Linked DNA regions of Homo sapiens: regions 1, 3 and 4 are each linked to region 2. The links are contacts of gene promoters, found by promoter capture Hi-C in blood cells and fetal thymus (Javierre and others, 2016). All regions are on one chromosome and are shown on one strand. Each heading gives the region's core, a stretch centred on a gene start or on the middle of the fragment in contact. The rest is flanking DNA. Distances are from core to core; before and after follow the strand shown.

Region 1 (6,567 bases), core at 2,545-5,044, 170 kb before region 2:
TATTATCAGGGATAAGACAAGGGATATTACACAAAGGGGTCAATTTTGAGAGAATCCACAACAATGTTAGATGTACAATGTTAACAACAGAGCTTAAAAATACATGACGGCCAGGCGTGGTGGCTCGAGCTACCACCAAAGTGCTATAATCCCAGCACTTTGGGAGGCTGAGGCAGGCAGATCACCCAAGGTCAGGAATTCAAGGCCAGCCATACCAACATGATGAAGTCCTGTCTCTATTAACAATACAAAAATCAGCCAGGTGCGGTAGTGCACGCCTGTAATCCCAGCTACTTGGAAGGCTAAGGCAGAAGAATGGCTTGAACTCAGGAGGTGGAAGTTACAGTGAGTCCAGATCGCACCACTGCACTCCAGCCTGGGCAACAGAGCGAGACTCCATCTCAAGAAAAAAAATACATGAGGTAAAAATATATAGAACTGAAAGGAAAAATAGACATATCTGCATTATAGTTGGAAATGTTAAGAGACAATTATAATTGCAGACTTTAAGACACTTTTCTTAGTAACTGAAAGATCAGGTAGGAGTAAATCAGAAAGATGTATGTATGTGTGTGTATATATATATATATATGACCTGAACTGCACTATCAATCAACTTGGTCTAGTTGACACTGATAGACCCACCTGACAATAGCAAAATACACATTTTTCTCCACTGCATGCAGGACATTTACCAAGATACACTACATTACGGGCCATAAAGCAAACTTTGACAAATTTAAAACGTAGAAATCATACAAAGTATATTCTCAGACCATTGCTGAACTAAACTAGAAATCAGTAACAGAAAAATTGCTGGAGGTGTCCCAAATATTTGTAAATTAAACAATTTACTTCTAAATAATCTATAGATCAAAAAGGAAAACTCAATGGAAATTTAAAAATATTTTGAACTAAATTAAAATAAAAGTTGTCAAAATTTGTGAAATATCACAACCTACTTGGACAGAAATTTATGGCATTTAAAAACGCATTTATTGGAAAAGAAGAAAGATCTAAAAATAAATAATTGAAGCTACTAATTTATGAAACTAGAGAAATAAAAAATTAAACCTAAAGCAAACACAAGTAAAAAATAAAAATTAGAGCACAAATGAAATCGAAAACAATAAAATAGAATCAACATCTCCTAGATGTTCCAGAACTTTGACTCAAGAAATAACTGTTTCGCTGGGTGCAGTGGCTCACGCCTGTAATCCCAGCACTTTGGGAGGCCAAGGCAGGCAGATCTTTTGAGCCCAGGAGTTTGAGACCAGCCTGGACAACATGGCGAGACCCCATCTCTATTAAGGAACCCAGAAGTTGGAGGTTGCAGTAAGCTGAAATTATGTCTCTACACTCCAGCCTAGGCAAGACTCTTGCCTCAAAAAAAAAAAAAAAAGAAATGGCAGATATTTTTTGATCCCTGAGTGTGCACACACACAAACATGCACACAAACTACAACATCAAAGTTCTCGTCCAAGTTACAGTCATCACAGGCATGGCTGAAAGAGCTGAATAATTCAGTAAGCCTCGAGACTAAGCTTTAATCAGCTGACCACACGCACTGCCCCTGCCACGGTCCCCTTCTCCAGGGAAACCTCACACAATTAGTGAACATACCTTCTGTAGTAATGGTCAAAGCATTCATTACAGAAATGTTCCCCACAGGAGAGATGATACCATCGGGAGGTGTAGCCATTTTTGGCACATCTGAAAATAGTGAAAAACATATAGCTTTGGTAATGAATAAACATTTCTCCTCCCATTTTTTAAAAAACATCTTGCAAGCACCATCTATGAACCCATTTTGCATTATCTCCACTTAGCCCCTTAAGGACAGGGGAAACAGGAATGGATTACTAGTAGATAATAACACACAGGAAGGATGCAGGGACTTAGGCCATGGGACCTAACCTAGCTGGCTGCCTGGGGCTTAGCAGTCTTAAGAAGACTCCTTGGGGCAATGATAGGGTTTTATGACACAAAAGGACAGATGCCACTGTGCTTGCTGCAGGCTGCATATGTGGACATGAGAGAATAACGTGGGGCCCAGTACTGAACAGCGAGGGAATCTGGTCAGCTGAAATCTGAACATCAAGCAGGCAATTTGGCAAAGATAACTTGTCAAACAGTTGATAATATAGCAAGAGAATGAAAAATCATGCCACTATGAACACGATCACCACGTCTTTGTGTTTATTTTTAATATTTTTTTATTTATTTGAGATGGAGTCTTGCTCTGTCACTCAGGCTGGAGTACAGTGGCACGATCTCAGGCTCATTGCAACCTCTGCCTCCTGGGTTCAAGCGATTCTCATGCCTCAGCCTCCTGAGTGGCTGGGATTACAGGCTTCTGCCACCGTGCCCAGCTAATTTGTGTATTTTTAGTAGAGACAGGGTTTCACCATGTTGGCCAGGCTGGTCTGGAACTCCTGACCTCAACTGATCCGCCCATCTTGGTCTCTCAAAGTGCTGGGATTACAGGCGCATGCCACCATGCCTGGCCCTCTTTGTGTTTAAAAACAAATAGGATTTGTTTTCTCGATTTTATTGAACCTTAACCCTTAATTGAATATTTTCCTCTGGAAGTAAAAAAGAAAAAAAAAAAGAAGATCATACTTGTGTCACCCCACAATAAAAATGGCAAGGCTGCAGTTAGCTGTAGTTTCTATGAGACCTGTATGTGCGTATGGGAAGAGGTGGCATGTTATATGAGAGAGAAAAACACAACGAAAAGTAAACAAACACTGGTGTCTACAGAAAGCTCATGAGTTCTCTCTACTGTCTCACCACGACATACACCATCCCACCCTCAACCCTTGGAGAGGTAGATATGGTTGGCTGGATTTGAGGACACTGTGTTGCAAAATTGACATGGGTGTGGCCTCTCCCAGTAGGCTAGGGATAAGTAGGGAGGGCCTTGAGGAGGGTGTGGTGTGTACAGAATGTCTGGGCAATGTCTCTATTATTAGATTAGATGACTTATAGTATCTGTATCTATCTTTAGGAAAACTATCTACAAGGATGATGTTTCCACAAAGAACTTCTCACAAGCAGAAATGGGAGGCCAAGACACACATCTAAACAGACCTTTCAGAAGCACTTGCAAAGCACACAGGACATGTTGCCGTACAGCCTGCCTTTTCACATTTCCTGTACTTCTTCTCTGAGCCACCATCTTCATCCTCATCTGTTGTCTCTGTTGCTTTCTTCTTCGCCTAAGGGAGTCACAGCTGATGTTAAAATTTCACTGATGATGGCAAAATGACTAAGGATGAAGGTTCACTACTGAAATCACAGCTGAGTTCTAAACATGAAGGTCAAAAACATCATGGCAGTAGGTTAGGGATGACAATACAGCAATTTCCTGGTGACTGCATTGTGCAAGTAATTTACTAACTTGCTAGAGATATAGAAATAGCATTTTAACAACAGATGTCTAAGCAAAGAACTAAATTCATATGAGTCTTTCTTAGAAAAAAGTGACATCAGCTGGGTGTGGTGGCTCATGCCTGTAATCCCCAGCACTTTGGGTGGCTGAGGTGGAAGGATCACTTAAGCTCAGGAGTCCAAGACCAGCCTGGGCAACATACCGAGACCTCCTCTCTACTAAAAATAAAAAAAAATCAACCAGGCATTGTGGCACACACGATTGTGTCACTGTACTCCAGCCTGGGGGATAGAGGAGATTGTCTGGAAAAAAAAAAAAAAAAAAAGTGACATGAGTCAAAAAAAAAAAAGTCATTCCCCAAATTGAGATTTGTTTTTTCTTTATTTAGAGCAGTTATACCCTCTATTTTTTTTTTTGAGACAGAGTCTCACTCTGTCGCCCAGGCTGCAATGCAGTGGCGCCATCTCTGCTCACTGCAAGCTCCACCTCCCAGGTTCACGCCATTCTCCTGCCTCAGCCTCCCGAGTAGCTGAGACTACAGGCGCCCGCCACCACACCCAGCTAATTTTTTGCATATTTAGTAGAGACGGGGTTTCACCATGTTAGCCAGAATGGTCTGGATCTCCTGACCTTGTGATCCACCGGCCTCGGACTCCCAAAGTGCTGGGATTGCAGGTGGTGTAAGCCACCGTGCCTGGCCCCCTCTATTTTAAATAAAAAGCTAGAAAAATTATAGAGAAAGAATTACATTGTTCAATTTTTTCTTTTAAAAGAATAAAAGCCCTACCCAAAAAGCCCTATACATAACCCTCCAATAGCATTCAACCAATTCCAAGCTGAAGTCCAAATTCCTATGAATGACATCCAAGCCAGGCATGATCTGGCCCCAGCCTCACACTCTGGAAGCAACCACACAGCCGTGAATCTCTGAACATCCTATGCTGATTCACACTCTACGCCTTTATACTTACAGTTCCCTCTGCCAGATAATGCTTCTATTTTGTATATTCTATCATGTTATCACACTGTGTTATGACCGTACTGAGAATTTCTCCCCTAGAATACAAGCAACTTGAGGGCTGGAGTAATCTTTTCAACTCTAATTCTCCAGTCCCAATCAGTAATTCTGCATGCTCAAAAAAGGCTTGTTGAATGAATAAATGAACACTACCTGCCTACCGGAGCTCCTCAAAGGAAGGCTATCCGGAGAATGATCAAAAGATGCTTTTTTCTTTGTCCTCCCCCGTGGAGTTGCCATTACATTAAATAATCTGCAAAAGAAAAATCAGACCATTAAATATTAGCATCTGCAAATATTTTTAACAGTCTGGAGCAAGTTATTATACACTTTGGTAGGTAAGAATGTATGTCAGATTGCCTAAATACAAAGCTACAGTTTTCTTTCTTTTCTTTTGAGACATTCTTGCCATGTTGCCCAGGCTAGCCTGGAACTCCTGGGCTCAAGCGATTCTCCCACCTCAGCTCCAAGTAGTTGGGAATACAGGTGCACGTCACCACACCACCTGGCTCAAGCCACCATTTTCAAGTTCTTAACCTCTCTAAGCCTCAGTGTTCTCACACATAAAATGGGCACCATAAGCATTTACTATAGCACTGGCATGAAGTTTAAACAAGATAACCTATTTAAAGCACCAAAACTGGCATATCGTAAGTACTCAATAAACATTACCTATTAGTAGTTATGCACATTAAAAGATACAAAATGAGAAACATGCCACATGAATGACCAATAAACAAACCACACTATGTTTATAAAATTCAATGAGGAAAACCACCTAGTTTTGCCTATGTTCCTCTCCATTTTACTGTGTCTTCTTAGCAGTTCCTGCACTTTGATCTCTTATTACACTTTAAAAAGAAAACTCATGGCTGGGCACAGTGGTTCATGCTTGTAATCCCAGCACTTTGCAAGGCCCAGGCAGGCGGATCATGAGGTCAGGAGTTCGAGACCAGTCTGACCAACATTGTGAAACCCCGTCTGTACTAAAAATACAAAAATTAGCCAGGCATGGAGGCGCGTGCCTGTAATTCCAGCTACTCAGGAGGCTGGGGCAGGAGAATCGCCTGAACCAGGGAGGCGGAGGTTGCAGTGAGCCGAGATTGTGCTACTGCACTCCAGCCTGGGCAACAGAGCAAGACTCCATCTCAAAAAAAATAAAAGAAAACTCATTCATTCCTTTTCAGTACAACTCAACAAATAAATATCAAGAAAACCATCTAGTCACTACTGAATATACAGATCTAAATTAGATAGAAGCACTGGTATCTTCTACTGGAAAAAATTTCCCAAACTAGTCCAATAACAGCATGGTTAAACATATATTAAGAACCAAAGTCTACAAGAGAAATAATGTGTAGCAGCTATGAAAGATTAAGAGCTAACAGAATTTTTTTCAATTAGATTAAGGAATGAAAAATGCTTAGCATAAGTACTCAGTAATATACAGAATCTATAATTATCATTCATCTCCTTCCTTGATCTATTGGATTTAACTACACATACACACAGAAAATGATAAATGAAAAATAAATAGGACATACCTATGGATAAAGAATTTGAAAGTGGAAAAGTGGAACCATAAAATACAAATTCCAGATATATAATCTTAGTCTTGGAGAAAAGCTTTAAGGAGCTTGTAATCCTATTGTTTCATATTTGTGAGCTGTATTAACATTCATAAGAGTACTTTTCATGGATTATTAACATCCTATGGAAAAACTCATTTTGCCATCTACATTGACTTTGACACATCCTAACATCAATGTTACGGATGATTTTCCTTTGACTTTTTTTTTTTTTTTTTTTTTTGTGAAGGAGTCTCACTCTATCGCCCGGCCTCCTTTGACTTAATCTTCACTTTCTCAGAAACAATAAATATTATGTTAGCTGTGAACACATAATCCCTACATATTCTGAAATGCACTATAGTTCTTTAAGCATTAAATAAACTGCCATTTAGTTCTACAACATCTATCATACTGTTGGAGAAAATGCTAATGATGTTCAAAGTACTATCCACCGGCCAGCGCGGTGGCTCACGCCTGTAATCCCAGCACTTTGGGAGGCTGAGGTGGGCGGATCACGACATCAGGAGATCGAGACCATCCTGGCTAACACGGTGAAACCCCATCTCTACTAAAAATACAAAAA
Region 2 (5,944 bases), core at 1,207-3,706:
CTACCAGAGCAATGGCTTAGCATAGGGATGGTATCTTGCTTGTGAAAAGGTCCTGGATAAAGAATTTCAGGAATGGTGGGAGGTAATATTAAACAGAGAGGTTTTTTGTTTGTTTGCTTGTTTTTGAGGTGGAGTTTGGCTCTTGTTGCCCAGGCTGTAGTGCAACGGTGCGATCTTGGCTCACCGCAACCTCCGCCTCCCAGGTTCAAGCGATTCTCCTGCCTCAGCCTCCCAAGTAGCTGGGATTACAGGCATGTGCCATCACGCCTGGCTAATTTTGTATTTTTAGTGGAGACGGGGTTTCTCCATGTTGGTCAGGCTGGTCTCGGACTCCCGACCTCAGGTGATCTGCCAGCCTCGGCCTCCCAAAGTGCTGGGATTACAGGCGTGAGCCACCGTGCCCAGCCTGAGAGTTTTTTGAACAATAGAATACCATGCACGATTAAAGGATAAAATTTTAATTTTGTGAAAAATCAGTCTGGAAGCTGGATTTAGGAGTGATTAGAGGAGGCAAAGCTAGGAGGGTTAACAGGATGTCTCAGCAGCCCAAAAGTGAAGAGGTAAGCACAGACCTAGATTCTTAGCCTCAGAGGGCTGGAAATTTCACCTCTTTCTGAGCAGCAGCTGAGAGCCTGTAGCCTAAAGCCTACAACAGTGTTTGTAACATAGTAGGGCGCTCAGAACACATTTGTTGAACAAGTGAATGGACAGGTAAAGTGAGATTGCAGCAGCAGGAATGGAGAGGAGGAAAGATGCAACAGGCCCTTCAGAGGTAGACTGAGATAGCTGGCTCTACAATAAGGTGGGGCTGAAGTATTTGTCCTTCAGTGTACACAGGGGACTGGTTCCAGGAACATCCAAAACCATGCATACTCAAGTCCCACAGTCAGCTCTGCAGAACCCACAAATAGGAAAAGTTGGATCTCTCAGTTTTGAACCTGCCAAATACTGTCTTTTCTTTTTTCTCCCTTTTTTTTTTTGAGACAGGGTCTTGCTTTGTTGCCTAGGCTGGAGTGCAGTGGTGCGAACATGGCTCACTGCAGCCTCAACCTTCCAGGCTCAAGTGATCCTCCCACCTCAGCCTCTCCAGTAACTAAGACTACAGGCACCTGCCACCATGCCCGGCTATTTTTTAAATTTTTATGTTTGGCAAGATGGGGTTTCTTTACATTGCCCAGGCTGGTCTCGAACTCCTGGCCTCAAGTGATCCTCCCGCCTCGGCCTCCCAAAGTGTTGGGATTACAGGCGTAAGGCACTGTGCCAGAGCACGAATACTGTATTTTCAATCAGATTTTGGTTGAAAAAAAGCCACGTGTAAGTGGACTCGTGCAGTTCAAACCCGTGTTGTTCGAGGGTCAAGCGTAGCATCACCTCGGTTGGAGGCGGACGGACCCCTCTCCTAGCACCTGCCGTACACTGTCTAGCATAATAAGTCTCCACGCCCTCTCTTCCACCTTAGCGTGTGCCTCTGCATCATGCTATTCATGTTTCTGTGTGTCCTCAACAGCACCCTGCACACAGTAAAACCTCAATGCATCTTCCAATAAGTGGATTTCTAGATTTAAGCAAAATCGAAAGATTCCTGGATCTAAACTCTGGATTTTTGACTTCTGTACGCTTCAAAATGCCTGGCACTCGGTGAGCGCCCCTTAAGCACTTGTTGAACCAAACAGAATAAATCGGATTCGCCCAGTTCCGCCCTGGCAGCGAGGTCTGCATTTGGCAGGATGACAGAATCCATTGCTATTAAATTCTTATGTAAGAGTTAATGGCCCTCCCAGCCCACTTGACATCCCTCCCGAGACAAGAGAGGCCGGGAAAGGAAGGGAGAGCACTATTTACAAACATACACTGTTTCGGTGGTGGATTCACAGATTCATTTCTAGTCTCGGTTCACCACAGAGATCTTAAAATACCGCTGCAGGCTCCGTGTGGGACAGAGGGGGCGGCGTGCCGGGACTCGGAGGGGAAGGCCTGCGCACCCAGCGCGGCGAGCCGTGGTCCTTGCTGCCGTCCCGGGGCTCCGGGTGGCAGCGGCCCCAGAAGGCGGCTCGAGCTCACGGCGGTGTCCGGGGGGGGGCCCCGCGGGCGCCGGTGCAGGCTTGGCCTGGGAGGTCCCCTGGGGAAACAATGCGTCCCGCCCCGGACTCCAGCCTCCCCTAAGCGCCGCGCTGCTCGCCGCTCCTCTCACTGCCGTCCCGCCGCTCCAGGGGGCGCCGCGCGTGGCCGTGTCCGGCCTCTCCCGAGCCCCGGCGGGTGACGGGCGCGGAACATGGCGGCGCGGGGCCCCGGGCAGCCGCGAGGGGCCGCGGCGCTGCGGTCTCGGCTGGGGCGGCGCGGCTAGAGCTGCGCCTGGGCCCGCCGGCGAGGCCTCCTCCCCGCCCGCCGCCGCCGCCGCCGCCGCCGCGCCCCGCCCCGCGCGCCCGCCCCTCCCCGGGCCGCGGCCGTGCCCCGCGTCGCGCTCCCCCGGGATGGCCCGCGCGCCTCGGCGCTGCCTCTCGGAGCTCACGGCGGAGCGGCGGCGGCCGCGCTCGAGGGGCGCGCGGCTGCAGCGGCGGCGGCGCCGCGCGTGAGGGGCCGCCTAAGGCCGAGCGGGCGCGGCGAGCGGCCGGGCGAGCGCAGCCAACATGTCGGATACCAAGGTAAAAGTTGCCGTCCGGGTCCGGCCCATGAACCGACGAGGTGAGGAGCTTTCCGCTCTTTTTTATTTCTGCTCGGGCTGAGGGCGGGGGCAACTTTAGAAACTGCGGGGCCGGGACGGCGAGAGCGCGGCCGGGGCCGGGGGGCCGGGGCGGAGGCGGCGTCCGCGCTGGCCGTGGTGCCCGGGGCGCCGTCTCCAGGCTCGGCCGCCTCCAGGGACGGAGCCCCGCTCGGCGCGGCTGGCGGGCGGGCGGGCTGGAGGCGCGGATGCTGGACTTTGCAACGTCCCTTTCTCTCTGCTTTCAGAACTGGAACTGAACACCAAGTGCGTGGTGGAGATGGAAGGGAATCAAACGGTCCTGCACCCTCCTCCTTCTAACACCAAACAGGGAGAAAGGTAAAGCGGGTTCCGAGAGGGCGGCTGGGAGGATCCAGCCTCGCGGGGTCCCGCAAGTTTGAGCCAGGAAAATGGGAGTGCTCTTTCCTATTGTTAGGAGGACGGCTTCAAGTTTGTCGCCGGCTCCTGTTTGAAGCTGTTGCAAGTCCAAGTTCCTCTCCTCCCTCGCCCCCCTTCTCCTCCATCTAGAGCGGCGGCAGGCAGGGCACCCTGGCCACAGCACCAGTCAGCTGAGCCCGGGCGGGCTGCGAGGCACCCGGGAGGGAGAGGGCCGGATGGGACCCCATAGGTGATTCGTCCAGCGGCCACATTTTACAGACAGGAAAACTGAGGCCCGAGGCGGGCAGGTGACCAGCCCACGACCTTATTGTTCGTGGAACCCAGTGTCCGTGATTCTTTTCATCACTGCAGGGTTTGTTTCCTTTGGCAGAATTGTTTAGGGACAGTGTGTCTAAAATGGGAGGAAAAAATAAAGCAAAAGTCTTGTACGATGTAGACTCAGGCTGGACTAGTTAGTATCTATTTTAGTTGTTGTTGCTGAGTTGAGATAATGCCTCAATGTAATGCGCGAATTTTGATTTTCAAAGAAACAAAAGTAGGGCCCTGAACTGTATAGACACTGAGGGATGTTTAAAAAGGGGCTGTATTTACTAGATGGCAACATATTTGCATTTGAAAAGTGGTAACTGTTGGATCCTTATTAATTCCGTTCTGTTCCATGCAACAGTATGGGTTAACGCCCCAAAATAATTTGAATATTTGGCATTTTTCTAGTAAGCCTCTGAGAAGAAATCGGTTGGAATTCATTCAATATAATAATGCAGTAGCTTGTAAATATATATATGTGAAAAAACGGGAGAGTTTACAATATTAATTTTCATTGGAAATGAATATGAGTTTGTGTTTCCACGAATCACCTGTTGATCGATGGAATACAATTTAGTGAATTTCCTTCTTCAGAGATTTTCACTGAAGAGAGACTCTGAAGCAGGGTTTGTGACATTATTGCTTAGAGAAGCAATGCCTCCATTCTATAATGTGTGGTGTTCAAGCTCAGTTTTGCCAAATTTGGGGAAAGAAATCATGAGGCGATAAGATTGGGGATTCTTTGCTTTTCGTGTTGAGCATAGCAGTTTTTATCCAGTTTGCAAACATTCTGCTACCTTTAGCAGATTCTGGTGGTGATATTAAATAGCTAAGCTATATGTAAAATGTTGTGTTTAACACTGAATGTAGTGTTTATTGTACATTGTACTGAATGTTGTCTAGTAATGGATGTATTTTTAGATGCATTTATAGCAGTGTAGATAGTATAGCATATTTCATGGTGATAGTAAGTAAACTCATTGAGTACATTAAATATTTACAGATTAAATTAGATGCCCATATCACCAACGAATGTCCCCTCCCCCCACCCCCCCGCAAACTGCATATTGTTTCGGGAAAAAATTCTGTTGGGTCAGATTCTTGAAAGCAGTCTGGGGGAACAGGTAGAATACTTTTTAGCTCCTGTTGTGTAGCCGTTACTTGTTTTCCTTGCTGGCTTGGCACCTGCTCCTTGTCACTCTTAACCATAAGCAGTGCGACTGTTAGCTACTGTTTAATGACATGAAGTGTTGTCATTTGTGAAGAGAAACAGATTTGATTTTGTGGGATTTGGTACAATCTATAACTGTGGACAGTTGGTTCCAAATGCTAAGTAATCAGTTGATCATTTTTCGGGCTGAACCACGTTAGTTACTAATCAGGATCTTTTAGGTAAAGATTTGAAGGGTGATTTTGGGATCTATTCATCTGCTTACTTACGATAGTCCCTTATCTGGAGTTATAAAAATAGCATTGAAATATGGGTACTCTCGTGTTTTGTCCTTCTGACGGATCTAATTCTTTGAATAGCAGATGAGCTTTCTGTGGGATTCTGTCTTGAGTACCGGTCATTTCATTTACAGACAAACTGAGTAGTCAACAAAACAGTGCTCCTTGTACATTAGGATTACTGTCTTTGCACAGATGAAGACACCAAATGCATTTTTATTTTCATTATGCAGCTTGGTTTCATATTTCTCCACAGACTTTTCCCTTAAAGTAACAGTGCATTTAAAAATAGAAACAATTCCTCCCTTGGGCTCTGGGTTGATTAATTGCAGCAGTGCTTCATGCTATGTTTGCAATTCATTTCTGTCATTGGTTTTTAGATAGTGCTCAGGGCAGGGCAAAGGTGAAGAGTAGAATACTGAGAATGTTATTATTTTTCATATCTGCAAGTCCAAGGTTTGAAGTGTAAGAGGTCTTTAAATGCATATTGGCAAACCTGTGTCAAATTGAGAATTACTGTTTTTCTGAAAGTTGCAAGAAATTACCAATGAATTAGCCATGGATAGAAATTGAAGGTTAGTGGGTGAAAGTTTTCAGTCTTACCAGTAAAAACAAGTGAGAATGCATTGACGTCCAGGGAAAAAAAAAAAAAACAGATGGGGTCAGCTTTCATTGTTTCCCCATTTTACAAAACCAAAGCCAAGACTGTGTAGCTAGGACTAAAAGATCAGAGGATCTCTGAGGTTAAAGATGTTTGTTTTGTTGCTGAAATTCTAGTATTGTAATACATTGCATAGGTCCAGGTTAGTAGTTGATATGTATACTGATCACCATTCTGAAACATTAAGACACATGGATTTGTTTCTTAAAATACCATTGCATTGCTCTCCAGGAGACATTTATGAAGTTCAGATCATTTCAGTACCATGCTCAGCATAGGGGATTCAAAGATACTTGTGGATCCAGTACCTACACCAGAGTCACTCACCTTGGAGAGAAGGAGGAGAGAGAGGAAAAAGTAGTTAAAATACAACGTGGTAAATTACGCTGGTGTATACTTTTGCCATTTCATGAACCACATAATTTCAAAAT
Region 3 (6,364 bases), core at 3,181-5,680, 220 kb before region 2:
TCAGCTGGCCTCCAACAAGCAACACGATAAACAATATTTCTATAGAAACGGTAAGCTAAGTTCCAAACAACTAATGTAAAAAACAAACTTCTGAACAAAAACCCCAAGCAAGGGATTGCATCATTAGATAGATCCTCTCATATAAAATTAGCAACAAGGCTGGCCATACAGTGGCTCACACCTGTAATCCCAGCACTTTAGGAGGCCGAGGTAGGCGGATCACTTGAGGTCAGGAGTTCAAGACCAGCCAGGCAAACATGGTGAAACCCTGTCTCTACCAAAAATACAAAAATTAGCTGGGTGTGGTGGAGCACACCCATAATCCCAGCCTACTCGGGAGGCTGAGGCAGGAGAATCGCTTGAACCCGGGAGGTGGAGGTTGCAGTGAGCCAAGATTGTGCCACTGCACTCCAGCCTGGGCGAAAGAGTGAGACTCTGTCTCAAAAATAAATAAATTAAAATGAAATAAAATAAGCAACATATCTGAATGCCCCTTTCTCTTTAACTTACATAACTTTTGAGTCATTTCACTTCTATTTCTGCTCCTTTATTTCAAAAAGATATAAGCCATGGCCATTTACAAATCTCCAGAGATGGTGAGATTTAGTACACTGGCAAACAAAGTATCCTGAGCTCCGTGGAGAAAAGAGACTATCTGCATGTGTGCGATATTAAAAAAAGCTGGCCAAGGCTCCTCTTAAAAGGAAAGCTGTAGTCAAAGCTTCTAGGGCTTCAGTAAATATAGAATCCACGTAGAAAATACCGAGCCTTTTATATCCTTACAAAAAAAAAAAAAAAGGGAAGTGTGTATGATGTGAGAAGAAAAAAAGGAAGGAAGACAATTGTGTAAAAAAAGGTACAGGGCACTGTTACAGGCAGAACCGTGTCTCCCTCAAATTCCCATGTGGACACCCTAACCCTCAGTGCCTCAGAATGTGACTGTATTTCGTCGCATGGTCTCCAATGGGTAATTACTTTAAAGTGAGGTCGCCGGGGTGAGCCTTAATCTAATCTGATTTGTGTCCTCATAAGAAGAGGAGATGAGGACACAGACACACACAGAGGGAAGCCCATGTGAGGACACAGGGAGAAGACAGCATCTACCAGCCAAACAGAGAGGACCCAGGAGAAACCAACCCTGCCGACACCTCGATCTCAGGCTTCCAGCCTCCAGAACTGTGAGGAATAAGTTTCTGTTGTCTAAGGCAGCCAGTCTGCGGTACTCTGTGATGACAGCCCTCACAGACTAATCTCAGTGCTGAGGTGGGCAGTGGGACTCTGAAAGAAAGAAGACTGTGGCCTCTGCCTTCCTTCCTGTGATTCTCAGTGACGCTGGCTGCTTGGGCTTCACACCTGCTCTGGATAGCAAGCACGGCTTGCCCCTTTCAAGGAGGGCTTCCTCTCTCTCACCTGCTCCTTGAACAGCTCCCGGAGCGTGGCCATGCACTGCTGCAGCACCTGTTTGTCATCCAGGGTCCTCACGGATGCGACAGCCTCCCCGGCAATCACAGACATCAGCACGCTGTGCTTCTTCTGGAGACATGAAAGGAAAAGCAGGAGGTCTGTGAGTGCTCAGCTCCCACAGATAAGGGCCTCTTTTTTTTGTTTTTTGTTTTGTTTTGTTTTAAATGAGACAGAGTTTTGCTCTGTCACCCAGGCTGGAGTGCAATGGTGCAATCTTGGCTCACTGCAACCTCTGCCTCCCAGGTTCAAGTGATTCTCCTGCCTCAGCCTCCAGAGTAGCTGGGATTACAGGCGTCTGCCACCATGCCCGGCTAACTTTTGTATTTTTAGTAGAGACAGGGTTTCACCATGTTGGCCAGACTGGTCTCAAACTCCTGACCTCAGGTGATCCACCCACCTCGGCCTCCCAAAGTGCTGGGATTACAGGCGTGAGCCACTGTACCCGGCCAAGAGCCTCACTCTCACAAGTTAAATGTCACTATTTCTGGCTGTCCCTTATCCGCACGTCACTCGCCAGTCCATTTTCCTCGCAAACACTCATTATTCATCCATCCACTCTATTGCTTCCTGCTGGAAAAGAAAAACACTAAGAAATGTAAATAGCAACTTTAAGGTTCCCTTGGCTGTTCACTAATTAAAGCTTGCTTCGGAAGAAGTAGAAAGAGATGGAGAAGGAAAATCTGCAGATAAAACAATGAAAAATAAAAAAACCTCAAATGGTAAAGAAAATCTGCCCTCGGCTCCTATGTGAAACCTTTTAAGACAAAGTTTCTTGAAACTGAAAGTCAGAAACAGCCATGATTCTTTCGTGTGGCAGTGACATGACGGCAGAGAAAGTGACCACCCCCGTCCAGCTCTGGGTATGCCATTCTCCTCTCTCCTTCCTTCCCTCAGCTCTCACATCTGCTGACACTCACACCCTCCCTCACCAATCATACACCCTTTCCCAGCTCCCTAGAGGACCCTCAGAGAGGAAGTTTCAAGCACCACTCATTGACTCTGATGTCTCCAACTTCACCTAAGAGGAATTCCCCCATAGCCTGAAATGACAGTTTCCACAAGCATCCAATTCATGTCCCAGGGAGCAACATGAGGACTTTAAGAAGACATGGCAAATACTGGGGCTCCTTTCCTATAGGAAAATGTCCAGTCCAAGTGTCCTCCCAGAATATAAACATAGACCCAGGGTCTCCATGATGTTCGTTAGTTCCTGAGCTTGATAGGTGAGTAATTATCACATCAAATTCTAAACTTTAAGACGGAAATTCAAACCACAGTTCACGAATGATTTTACCTGGGGATCCATGTCATAGAACACGGCAAAAAGCCCTCGCTTGCTGGCACTGGGAGGAACGTGACCAAAAAAGTCAGCCCCTTGTACTTTACTGTCCCAAAATCTATACGGAAATTGCAAGGCAATCTGCAAAGTGAGCAGAAGAAAGGTGGTTAGGTGTCTGTCGTCACAAAACCACAGGCAATATCTAAGCAGCAACCTGTAGCTCTACTCTAAAACAAAGACACTGCCCGAAAGAACAACCCCAAATACCGCTCTTTCCATTCTCCTCACCTCCTTTTTTCCCCCTGTGAACTCCTTGGTTGTTTTTTGTTTTGTTTTGTTTTTTGGGTTTTTTTTTTTTTTGAGACGGAGTTTCGCTCTTGTTGCCCAGCTGGGAGTGCAATGGAGCGATCTTGGCTCACTGCAGCCTCCACTTTCCGGTTTCGAGTGATTCTCCTGCCTCAGCATCCCAAGTAGCTGGGATTACAGGTGCACACCACCACGCCCAGCGAATTTTGTATTTTTAGTAGAGATGAGGTTTCACCATGTTGGTCAGGCTGGTCTTGAACTCCTGACCTCAGGTAATCCATCCTCCTCAGCCTTCCAAAGTGCTGGGATTACAGGCATGAGCCACTGTGCCCAGCCCAGCTCCTTGCTTTTGATGCCACTCAGTTCCATTCCCATGGATAATGGAACCCACTGGCAACCTAGAAGCTAGTCTGAAGATGCCCAGCATTCCTAAGACTCACTCCTGGGCGTATGTCCCTAAGTTAAACTCTCACTACTCATAGGTCTGTCAGAATCTGCTGCAGCACTGGCCCATTCTGCTACAGGAGATATTAAAGGCAGGAGAAATAAACCTCTGTCCTCACTGGGGCCAATGAGTGGAAAGCAGACAAGAAAGAAAGCAGAAGGGGGGAAAAAAGGGGATAAAAGAATTGCTTATACCAAATTCAAATTGTGAATAACAAGATTCTTTCTCCTAAAGTCAAAACTCACAGACCTCAGCCAGCTCTCCTCCTTTCGTTTTGATAATATTCTTCTGTGTTCTTCACGAACAATTACTCAAATGAAAAGGAAATCCTTGAGTTTTATTTGTATTTAGATAGTACCCACTACTTCTCCATATCAGAAGTTAACATCTATCATCTGACATTAATCTCTTTCTTGCTGAGGATGAGGTCATTTCAGTCACCTTTTCAATGATGCCTGCGCCTAAGCTGTTGATAGCCTTCATCTTCTTCTCTGACAACGGTGGATTAAACTGAATGGCACCTTTCTGTAGTAAAGCCAGTGGTACAGTGACTAATACCTGTGGAAAATAATTAACAGTTAACAAACAAACAGCAACAGAACCTCACACTACCACTACACTGGTATCAACAACCCATGCTGTTATACTGGCAAGAACAAGGGCTGCCATGTGCAACTGTGCAGGTTGCTCACTGCACAAGGGTGCCAATGCCTGGCTAAGCAGAAGTGGCAACCACAGGGAAGAGTGGGCAAAAAACGTCCTGATGGTGAATAATCATCTTAGATAAGAAGAGTCAGCAGAGGCCAGGTGCGGTGGCTCATGCCTGTAATCCCAGCACTTTGAGAGGCCGAGGCGGGTGGATCACCTGAGGTCAGGAGTTCAAGACCAGCCTGGCCAACATGGTGAAACCCTGTCTCTACAAAAATACAAAAATTAGCCAGGTGTGGTGGCAGGTGCCTGTAGTGCCAGATACTTGGGAAGCTGAGGCAGGAGAATCTCTTGAACCTGGAAGGCGGAGTTTGCAGTGAGCCGAGATCACGCCACTACACTCCAGCCTGGGCAACAGAGCGAGACTGTCTCAAAAAAAAAAAAAAAACAAAACCCCGAAAAGCAGTACTTGAGGAGGAAAGAGCCCTAACTATGGAGTCAGGAGAACTTTATGCATCATTCCTAATACATTCTACTGTGTGGCCAAGCCTGCCACTCATCTCTGCCATACATCTATAAAATGAAGGTAGTATCTGCCCCACTAACCTCTGAGAATCAGGGTGATGCTTTAAAACTAAAATTTACAAGATACATCAATATGCTTCATAAGTAGTGAAACACATCACAAACATTGGGAATTGGACATTTCTGGCTCCAGACCCCATTATCGTTGCTACAATCAGGACGCCATTACTACTACTGCCAGCTCCAGAATCATGCCACATACAGAACCACGTGCACCAGCAACATGCATGCCTTACGGCCTCCTTCTTGACTTGTGGTTACTGACTAAACCCTGCAACTTTCACGAACCCTGCTGCAGAAGAACCAAACACCTCCAGCATTGTGTGCTCTCAACAGAGGCAGCAGAAGGGAAGCGAAAGTCAACCTACACCTTCTACATCTCATGCAAGTGCATCAGATTGGCTGGGCTGGATGGATGTTTAGAAACCTGCTGTAGGGAGTTGGGGAAGAGTGTGTGTATTTGCTTTCTAATATCTGCAGTACAGGATGACACCCTAGGATCAGAGTGGAATGGAGTTGAAGACCAAGCACCCAATCTACCTGAGGCTTCAAAGATTTTGTATATTTGGCTTAACTCTCAATTCTAGGATCACAGGAAGTTCAGAGTTCTCTGATTTTGTCACTATTTTCTGCCACATGAAAATATTTTTATAAAGTATAAAATATGCTCTCTATCATCAAGAAGTTTATAATCTATTTATAGATAATTACCATGCAACCAAAAAAAATGAGGCAAACCACAACAAAAAACCAATTACTATCCAATTAAATTGCAAGAAAATAAATAAAATCTAGATTTTTTTCCCCTTTAAAGAGACAGGGTCTTGCTCTGTTGCCCCGGCTGGAGTGCAGTGGCATGATCACAGCTCACAGCAGCCTCAAACTCCTGTGCTCAAGTGATCCTCTTGCCTCAGCTTCTTGTAGTAGCTGGGACCATGGGTGTGCAGCACGATGCCCAGATAATTTTTTTATGTTTGGTAGAGACAGGGTCTCACCATGTTGCCCAGGCTGGTCTCAAACTCCTGGCCTCAAGCCATCTTCTCGCCTCAGCCTCCCGAAGTGCTGTGATTACAGGCATGAGCCACCCACGCCCACAAATCTAGATGTTTTCTTAATGACAAAATAGCACTGAAAAGCATAAGAACTTGAGTAGCCCAGGTGCAGTGGCTCACACCTATAATCCCAGCATTTTGGGAGGCTGAGGCAAGAGGATTGCTTAAGACCACGAGTTCAAGACCAGCCTGGACAACATAGGGAAACACTGTCTCTACAAAAAAAAAATTTTTAATTAGCTGAGTGTGGTGGCATGTGCTTGTGGTCCCAGTTACACAGGAGGCTGAGGTGGGAGCACTGCTCAAGCCCAGGAGTTCGAGGCTGCTGTGAGCTACAAGCTGCACCACTGCACTCCAGCTTGGGCAACAGAATAAGACCCTGTAAAACAAAAAAAAAAAAAAAAAAAAAAAAAAAAAAGAAAAGAAAGAGAAAAAAAAGAAAGAAAAGCCTTGGGTAAACAAATAGGCAAATGATATAAACACATCCTAGTAAGTAATAAAAGCGAGATGTCAATGGAAGCAGCCTAGACTGAGTTAGTCTGCTGGAGGTTCATCGGTCTATCACGTTGGGTTGAAAATTATTCT
Region 4 (6,677 bases), core at 2,774-5,273, 140 kb after region 2:
CAAGGTGGGTGGATCACTTGAGGTCAGGAGTTCGAGACCAGCCTGGTCAACATGGTGAAACACCGTCTCTACTAAAATAGAAAAATTAGCTGGGCGTGGTGCTGGGCACCTGTAATCCCAGCTACTCAGGTGGCTGAGGCAGGAGAATTGCTTGAACCCAGGAGACAGAGGTTGCAGTGAGCCAAGATCATGCCACCACATTCCAGCCTGGGCAGTAGAGTGAGACTGCATCTCAATAATAATAACCACTGTTACACTTTGGTGCATTTTGACCAAAATTATGAGTGACAAGGAAGTGACCCAATCAAAGAAAATGTTTATATTTACTCTTAAGAAGCTGTTAACTATTTAATGCATACAAAATAACATTTATAACACCTGTAAGGCATAAAGAGTAATAAAAACAACTGCCTACCTACATTGGCTTAATAAATGGAACATGACTTAGTCAAAAGTACTCTAGCTAAAATTAAATAAATAAATAAATAAATAAATGGAACATGACCAATAATTGTGAAGCTCACTATACGTTCCCCTTGGATCCATTTTCTACCCCTCCCCAAGGTAACTACTATTGTGAATTTTGTGTTTAGCATTCTCTTCCTCTTCTTTAGCATTTACAAATAATTTTGCATAATTTTTAACTTTGTATGACATCATAATATATGTGTTCTTTGGTGATTTGTTCCCCCCACCGTGATTCATTTATTCTTATATATGAAGTGCTAATACATTTTTACTGTTGTCTTAGCATTTCATTGCATGGTTACATCAATAATTCATCACTTTCTCTGTCTTTTGTGTGGTTCCTGCTTTTATCAATAGAGTGCTGCTCTGAAAGCATTGTTATACAGGTTTCCTGCTGTATAGGTAGGTGCAGGAGTTTCTAGGTAACACATCTAGGGGTGGAATTGTAAGTCACAAAATACTGAATCTCCAATTTTATTTAATTGCGCAAACTGTTATCCAAAGTGGTTGTACCAATTTCCACCCCCACCAGCAGTGTACAAGAATTTCAGATACTGGACACCATCACAGGCACTTGGTATAATGCTAGGTTTGCTTTTTCTTGCTGCTGAATAGCATTATAGAATCTCTGGCAAGCAGAGTAAGCTGTGTACTGGATCGTGTGCATCTAAGTAGCTCACTGTCACATTGAATTCTTCGTCTTTAAAATAAAGGTGGTAAAGCCTACTTTGTAGGGATGTTATGAAATGAAACGGCATAACTGAAAAGTGCTTCAGGGAACAATGCCAGGACTTTGGGATGCATTCAGTGATGCTTCTTAGCTCCTTTTTCCCATATATTGGTGATGCTAAGCAATGACTCTTAATTTGAAAGATGATTAATATGTGATGCCCTGAAAAAGATGGTGTGCACAATATGGTCAGTATATACATAGCTTTGCTTTTAATCTCCATTGTCTTTTGATAAACTGTTGAAATGGGTTCCAAACCAGGTTTATCATTTAAAAATTCAAAAGAGCTTTAAAATTTTCATTAGCAGAACCAATTCTAAATATAGTACAAACGTCAGTAATTATAAACAAACTCTGTACTATAATCTCACTTTCTGTATAAAATAGTGTAAGCATAGAAGTAGCATAAACCAATGCAGACTTGAAGTAGAGTTTAAATGTTTTAATACTGTCTACTAGTAATTCAAAAATTTTGACTGGGCGGTGGTGGCTCACATCTGCAATCCCAGCATTTTGGGAGGCTGAGGCTGGAGGATTGCTTGAGCCTAGAAATTCAGGACCAGCTTGGGCAGAATAGTGAAGCCACATCTCTACAAAAAATATAAAAACTAGCCAGGCATAGTGGCATGGGCCTGTAGTCCCAGCTGCGTGGGTGACTGAGGTAGGAGAATCACCTGGGCGGGAGGTTGAGGCTATAGTAAGCCGGGGTCATGCTACTGCACTCTAGCCTGGGCGACAGAGTGAGACCCTGTCTCAAAAAATAAATACCATTTTAAGACATTATCTGCTGAGAATATGCTTATTTATGAAATAGCCGAAAGGTTGATTTGATCTGGCATGTTTTTTGGTTCCCTTTTTCCCCCAATCCTCCCCAAAGTATAACTGACAGCCTAACCCAGGAAGGTTTGTGACTAGAGATAGAATGTTTAAAATAGTAACATACTTTAAATAGAAATCAGAGCATAAAACACATTTCTCATGTTAAACATTGTTTTGCTAATCCAAATAAAGTAGCTTTTAGATTTGTTGGGGGGAGGAGTCATTTAAAAATTCTTTTGAAATTGTTATCTTAGTTACTGTGTACTTAAAGAGAAAGAAAAGCTTCCAGCTTTGGTGTGATTCATTTATTCCTTTTTCCTCCCTCCCGCAGGAGTAGACAGTCTCTTAAAGTTCGAGAACATAAAGTTTTGGGACCATATGTAGATGGTTTATCTCAACTAGCTGTCACTAGTTTTGAGGTAAGTCATTTTTTTTAAAATGTGATTAAAAGCTGACTATAAATCAAAGTATGTAAGTGATACTGAGTATATTTTATGTGGATGCTTTATAGCAGAATGATACTACTCAGGGCCTCAGAAACCCAGTATCAGCACACCGCAAACAGAGAGGAAAAGGGCTTTTAATCACACTCTTCAAGCTGCTTTGTTGTGAAGGTTTTACAGTATGGCCGGGAGGCCCAGTGTTTTCAGGTTGCTGCATATTTTCACTAATACTACTCTGTTAAAACTGTTCTCCCAATGATGCCAGTGACATCCTTCTAGACATGTGGTATTCTAAACAGTATTTGGCAGTTAGTACAGCCCTTTCTTTTTGGCAGGGTCTCCTGCCTTGGTTTCTGTCACTTCTGGCTCTCCTGTTTTTCTGAATCACTCCTCTTGCCATTGACCGGCCTGTTTTACTTTATTTACTCTTTGACTTATATGCCTTGTTAAGATCTGACTCAAGATTCTGCTTCTATTTCTATAGTGATTGCTTTGGAAATCTCATAACACAAACTGCTATCTCTGTTGCTAAAGGATGTGAATGAATGAGTGAATGCACAGAGAAACAAGCAAATCCCTGCACTTACTTTGTGCTGTTTGTGGGATGTGGCTGGCCCATTATCACCCCAGACTTAGTATGGCTAAAACTAATCTGTGCAGTGATTCTCTCCAGCCATTTAAATCAAGGTATATATAGAATTGCTCTAATCGGAAATAGAGCACAGTGATCATTTTAAAAAGGTTTCGATTCTGAAATGAATGGATACTTTTTTGGTCTAAAGGTGCTAACTCAGCTCCTTCACTGAGGTCCCTGGTTCTTAGCTCAGTGTGGTTGAGGTAAGTGTTGATGTTATCCTGTCACTTACTAGTAGGAGCCAGGGTGCTCTATTTGCATCCCAGCTCTACCTCTTACTGGATTTGGGGAAAGTTGCTTGACCTCCACGAACTTCAGCATCCTTGTATGTAAAAGCAAGAAAATAAAGTTCATTTAGCAAATATTTCATAAGATCCCATAGGCTCTAGGCATTCTAGGAGCAAGTGTACAAAGTGGAATAAGGAAAAAACCCTGCCATCAGGGAGCCACAGTATTGGAGGAGGGAGGCAGACAGGCAGGCATCAGCGGGTTGGTAAGCACAGGAGAGTAAGAGTTAAATCAAGTCACTGCTATTATTGATTATCGGAGTGCTCAATAAATATTAGCTATCCCAGGAACCCAAAAAGGAGAAAATAGGGACTCAACTGAGAAAGAAGACAATTGGGAAATGGAAAGAATTAGGGAAACATTTCATACATTACAAAGTCTTGAGTGAGGTGGAAGCTCAAACCATGCTCAATGGAGGAGCGGCAGGGAGGTTTCTATGGAAGGGTGGTGACAAAGGCATCAGAGGAATCATAATTAATACATATACCTGGTGTGCAGGACTACATTCTTGTGTTTTTGCTTATGGTCTTTTCCTTATGCTTTGCCCCTAGGATATTGAGTCATTGATGTCTGAGGGAAATAAGTCTCGAACGGTAGCTGCTACCAACATGAACGAAGAAAGCAGCCGCTCCCATGCTGTGTTCAACATCATAATCACACAGACACTTTATGACCTGCAGTCTGGGGTAAGGGATTAGGCAGAACCTTTTTGGAGTGGGGGTGGAAGAACTGAAAGTGTCCATATAGGTAAAGTCTTTCATGGTTGGGTTCAGTGGCTGAGAATTGTATGTTGGCTCTTCTGCTTACTAGGTGAGCTACTTTGCTTATCATTTAATTTGTTAGGTCTTTCTTTATATTTGACTTTTTAAAAAATTGGATTTTGGCCTGGTGCAGTGGCTCCTGCCTGTAATTCCAGCATTTTGGGAGTCTGAGGCGGGAGGATTGCTTGAGGGCAGAAGTTCATGACCATCTTGTACAATATAGCAACACCCAGACTCTACAAAAACAAAAAAGAAAAATAATTGTATTTCTTGTGCAAAGTCCCTAACAAGTGTGATGACATCACCATACAGCTTTTAATATATATCCTTTCATGCTGAAATTCCCATGGAAACATGTCAGCTTCATAGCCATTGAGGGATATTAAAGAGGACACCACAACCTTTAGCCTAAACCTTTTTTCAAAGGAAGAAGGATTTGACTTGAATGTGCAGAAATCCTCATGTCCTCATATCTCCTCATAGGCATTTTAAATCTCCAGCTTTCTGACTGTATTCCAGAAAGCTGGGTGTACTTGCTACCCAGCTGCAAAACAAAATGCTACATTTCTACGCCTATTTAAATGTTAACTATGAAATTAATTGCTGGTTCAAATAACTCTTCTGACCGTTTAAAAACTTAAGAAATTTGCCATATGAGAGTGGGATGGATTGCTCAATTATAGTGCTAACATATATGTAGATATCCATGTGGTTTTTATTGATAAGTTTTTCTTCTCTCTCTCGTTTCCTATAACTAGAATTCCGGGGAGAAAGTCAGTAAGGTCAGCTTGGTAGACCTGGCGGGTAGCGAAAGAGTATCTAAAACAGGAGCTGCAGGAGAGCGACTGAAAGAAGGCAGCAACATTAACAAGTAAGGTGGCTGGTCCCAGAACAGCCTGGGTGATTTCCTTCTGGAGGGGATTTGTTGCATTATGAGGGTCAGATGGTTCTGATGTACAGGTTGTTTAAAGTCTGTATAGCTTTAGTAAACTGGGCTGAAGAAAAACAACAACAACCTGTGTCTGTTAAGATGTATGAGGTTTTTGGCCAGGCACGGTGGCTCATGCCTGTAATCCCAGTACTTTGGGAAGCCAAGGCGGGCAGATCACCTGAGGTCAGGAGTTTGAGACCAGCCTGGCCAACATGGCAAAACCCCATCTCTACTAAAAAGGCACGGTCACGCACACCGGTAACCCCAGCTACTTGGGAGACTAATGCAGGAGAATCGCTTGAATTTGGGAGGTGGAGGTTGCAGTGAATCAAGATTGCACCACTACACTCCAGCTTGGGCAACAGAGTGAGACTATCTCAAAGGAAAAAAAAGGATGTATAAGGATTTTGTTTAGGTACGGTGGCTCACAACTATAATTCCAGCATTTTGGAAGGCCAAGGTGAGTGGATCACTTGAGGCAAGGAGTTCAAGACTAGCCTGGGCAACGTGACAAAACCCCTTCTCTACCTGGTCTCTACCCCGTTTGTACCCATCTCTACCCCCTCTCTACTAAAACACAAAAATTAGCTGGGCATGGTGGCACACGTCTGTAATCCCAGCTACTCAGGAGGCCAAGGGGTGAGAATTACTTGAATCTGGGAGGTAAAGCTTGCAGTGAGCCGAGATTGCTCCCCTGTACTCCAGCCTAGGCAACAGAGCGAGACTCTGTCTCAAAAAAAAAAAAAAAAAAAAAAAAAGATGTACGAGTTTTAATTAAATAAAACTGCATGGTGCAGCTTGCTCAAAAATGGCACAAATACCATATTCTGACATATGTGGAAGCTAAAAAAGTTGATCTCATGGAAGTAGAAAGTAGAATAGTGGTTACTAGGGGCTGGAAAGGGGAGGCCAGGGGGAATAACGAGAGGTTGGTTAATGGATACAAAATTACAGCTAAATTGGAGGAATAAGTTCTAGTTTTCTGTAGCACTGTAGGGTGACTGTAATTGACAGTATGTTGTATATTTTCAAATAGCTAGGAAAGTGGATTTTCAGTGTTCCCAACACAAAAAAATGATAAGTGTTTGAGGTGATGGATATGCTAATTACCCTAAATTGATCATTATACATTGTATACATGTATCAAAATATCACACTTTACCCCATAAATATGCACAATTGTGTGTCAACTAAAAATAAAAGCAAGCCAGGCACGGTGGCTCACGCCTGTAATCCTAGCACTTTGGGAGGCTGAGGTGGGTGGATCACCTGAGGTCAGGAATTTGAGACCAGCCTGGATAATATGATGAAACCCTTCTGTACTAAAAATGCAAAAAATTAGCCAGGCATGGTGGCAGGCGCCTGTAATCCCAGCTACTCGGGAGGCTGAGGCAGAAGAATCTCTTGAACCCGGGAGACAGAGGTTGCGGTGAGCCGAGATCGCGCCACTGTACTCCAGCCTGGGCAACAAGAGTGAAACTCCATCTCAAAAAAATAATAATAATAATAGTACCTACTTCACCGATTTGTTAGGGATAAAATGACCATAATGTGCTTAGAAAAATGCCTAGCACTTAGTATGCAGTGAATAAAAATTAACTGT

Evidence for each region. The method cuts DNA at HindIII sites, captures the fragments that hold promoters and counts their contacts. A CHiCAGO score of 5 or more calls a contact.
Region 1: a contact is called between a fragment that was not itself captured here and the fragment with the promoter of KIF13A in region 2, in 1 of 17 cell types (neutrophils). The highest score is 7.7, in neutrophils.
Region 3: a fragment that was not itself captured here is called in contact with the fragment with the promoter of KIF13A in region 2 in 1 of 17 cell types (neutrophils); the score reaches 5.7 in neutrophils.
Region 4: a contact is called between a fragment that was not itself captured here and the fragment with the promoter of KIF13A in region 2, in 2 of 17 cell types (endothelial precursors and megakaryocytes). The highest score is 6.0, in endothelial precursors.

What each region holds. Positions count from the first base shown.
Region 1 is chr6:18,157,982-18,164,548 of GRCh38, reverse strand. KDM1B (lysine demethylase 1B) reads right to left here. Exons shown (of 22, transcript NM_001364614.2): 3 at 4,567-4,666; 4 at 3,095-3,222; 5 at 1,625-1,714. The coding sequence starts at 4,653. Among named protein-coding and RNA genes, the nearest start is that of KDM1B, 5.8 kb to the right of the region's middle. The HindIII fragment of the contact is 4,494 bases long and covers 1,548-6,041 here.
Region 2 is chr6:17,984,147-17,990,090 of GRCh38, reverse strand. It overlaps KIF13A (kinesin family member 13A), which reads left to right and starts at 2,456. Exons shown (of 39, transcript NM_022113.6): 1 at 2,456-2,682; 2 at 2,947-3,037. The coding sequence starts at 2,628. RefSeq lists silencers at 1,881-2,380, 2,751-2,870. The HindIII fragment of the contact is 11,131 bases long and covers 1-5,944 here.
Region 3 is chr6:18,210,176-18,216,539 of GRCh38, reverse strand. KDM1B (lysine demethylase 1B) reads right to left here. Exons shown (of 22, transcript NM_001364614.2): 18 at 3,936-4,052; 19 at 2,759-2,884; 20 at 1,411-1,533. Among named protein-coding and RNA genes, the nearest start is that of DEK, 51 kb to the left of the region's middle. RefSeq lists enhancers at 1,098-1,217, 4,825-4,874 and a silencer at 1,428-1,477. The HindIII fragment of the contact is 4,647 bases long and covers 2,107-6,364 here.
Region 4 is chr6:17,847,714-17,854,390 of GRCh38, reverse strand. It overlaps KIF13A (kinesin family member 13A), which reads left to right. Exons shown (of 39, transcript NM_022113.6): 7 at 2,349-2,436; 8 at 3,934-4,068; 9 at 4,902-5,014. It overlaps LOC105374953 (a long non-coding RNA gene), which reads right to left and starts at 3,957. Exons shown (of 3, transcript XR_001744007.2): 1 at 3,870-3,957; 2 at 3,327-3,416; 3 at 852-1,360. The HindIII fragment of the contact is 3,444 bases long and covers 2,302-5,745 here.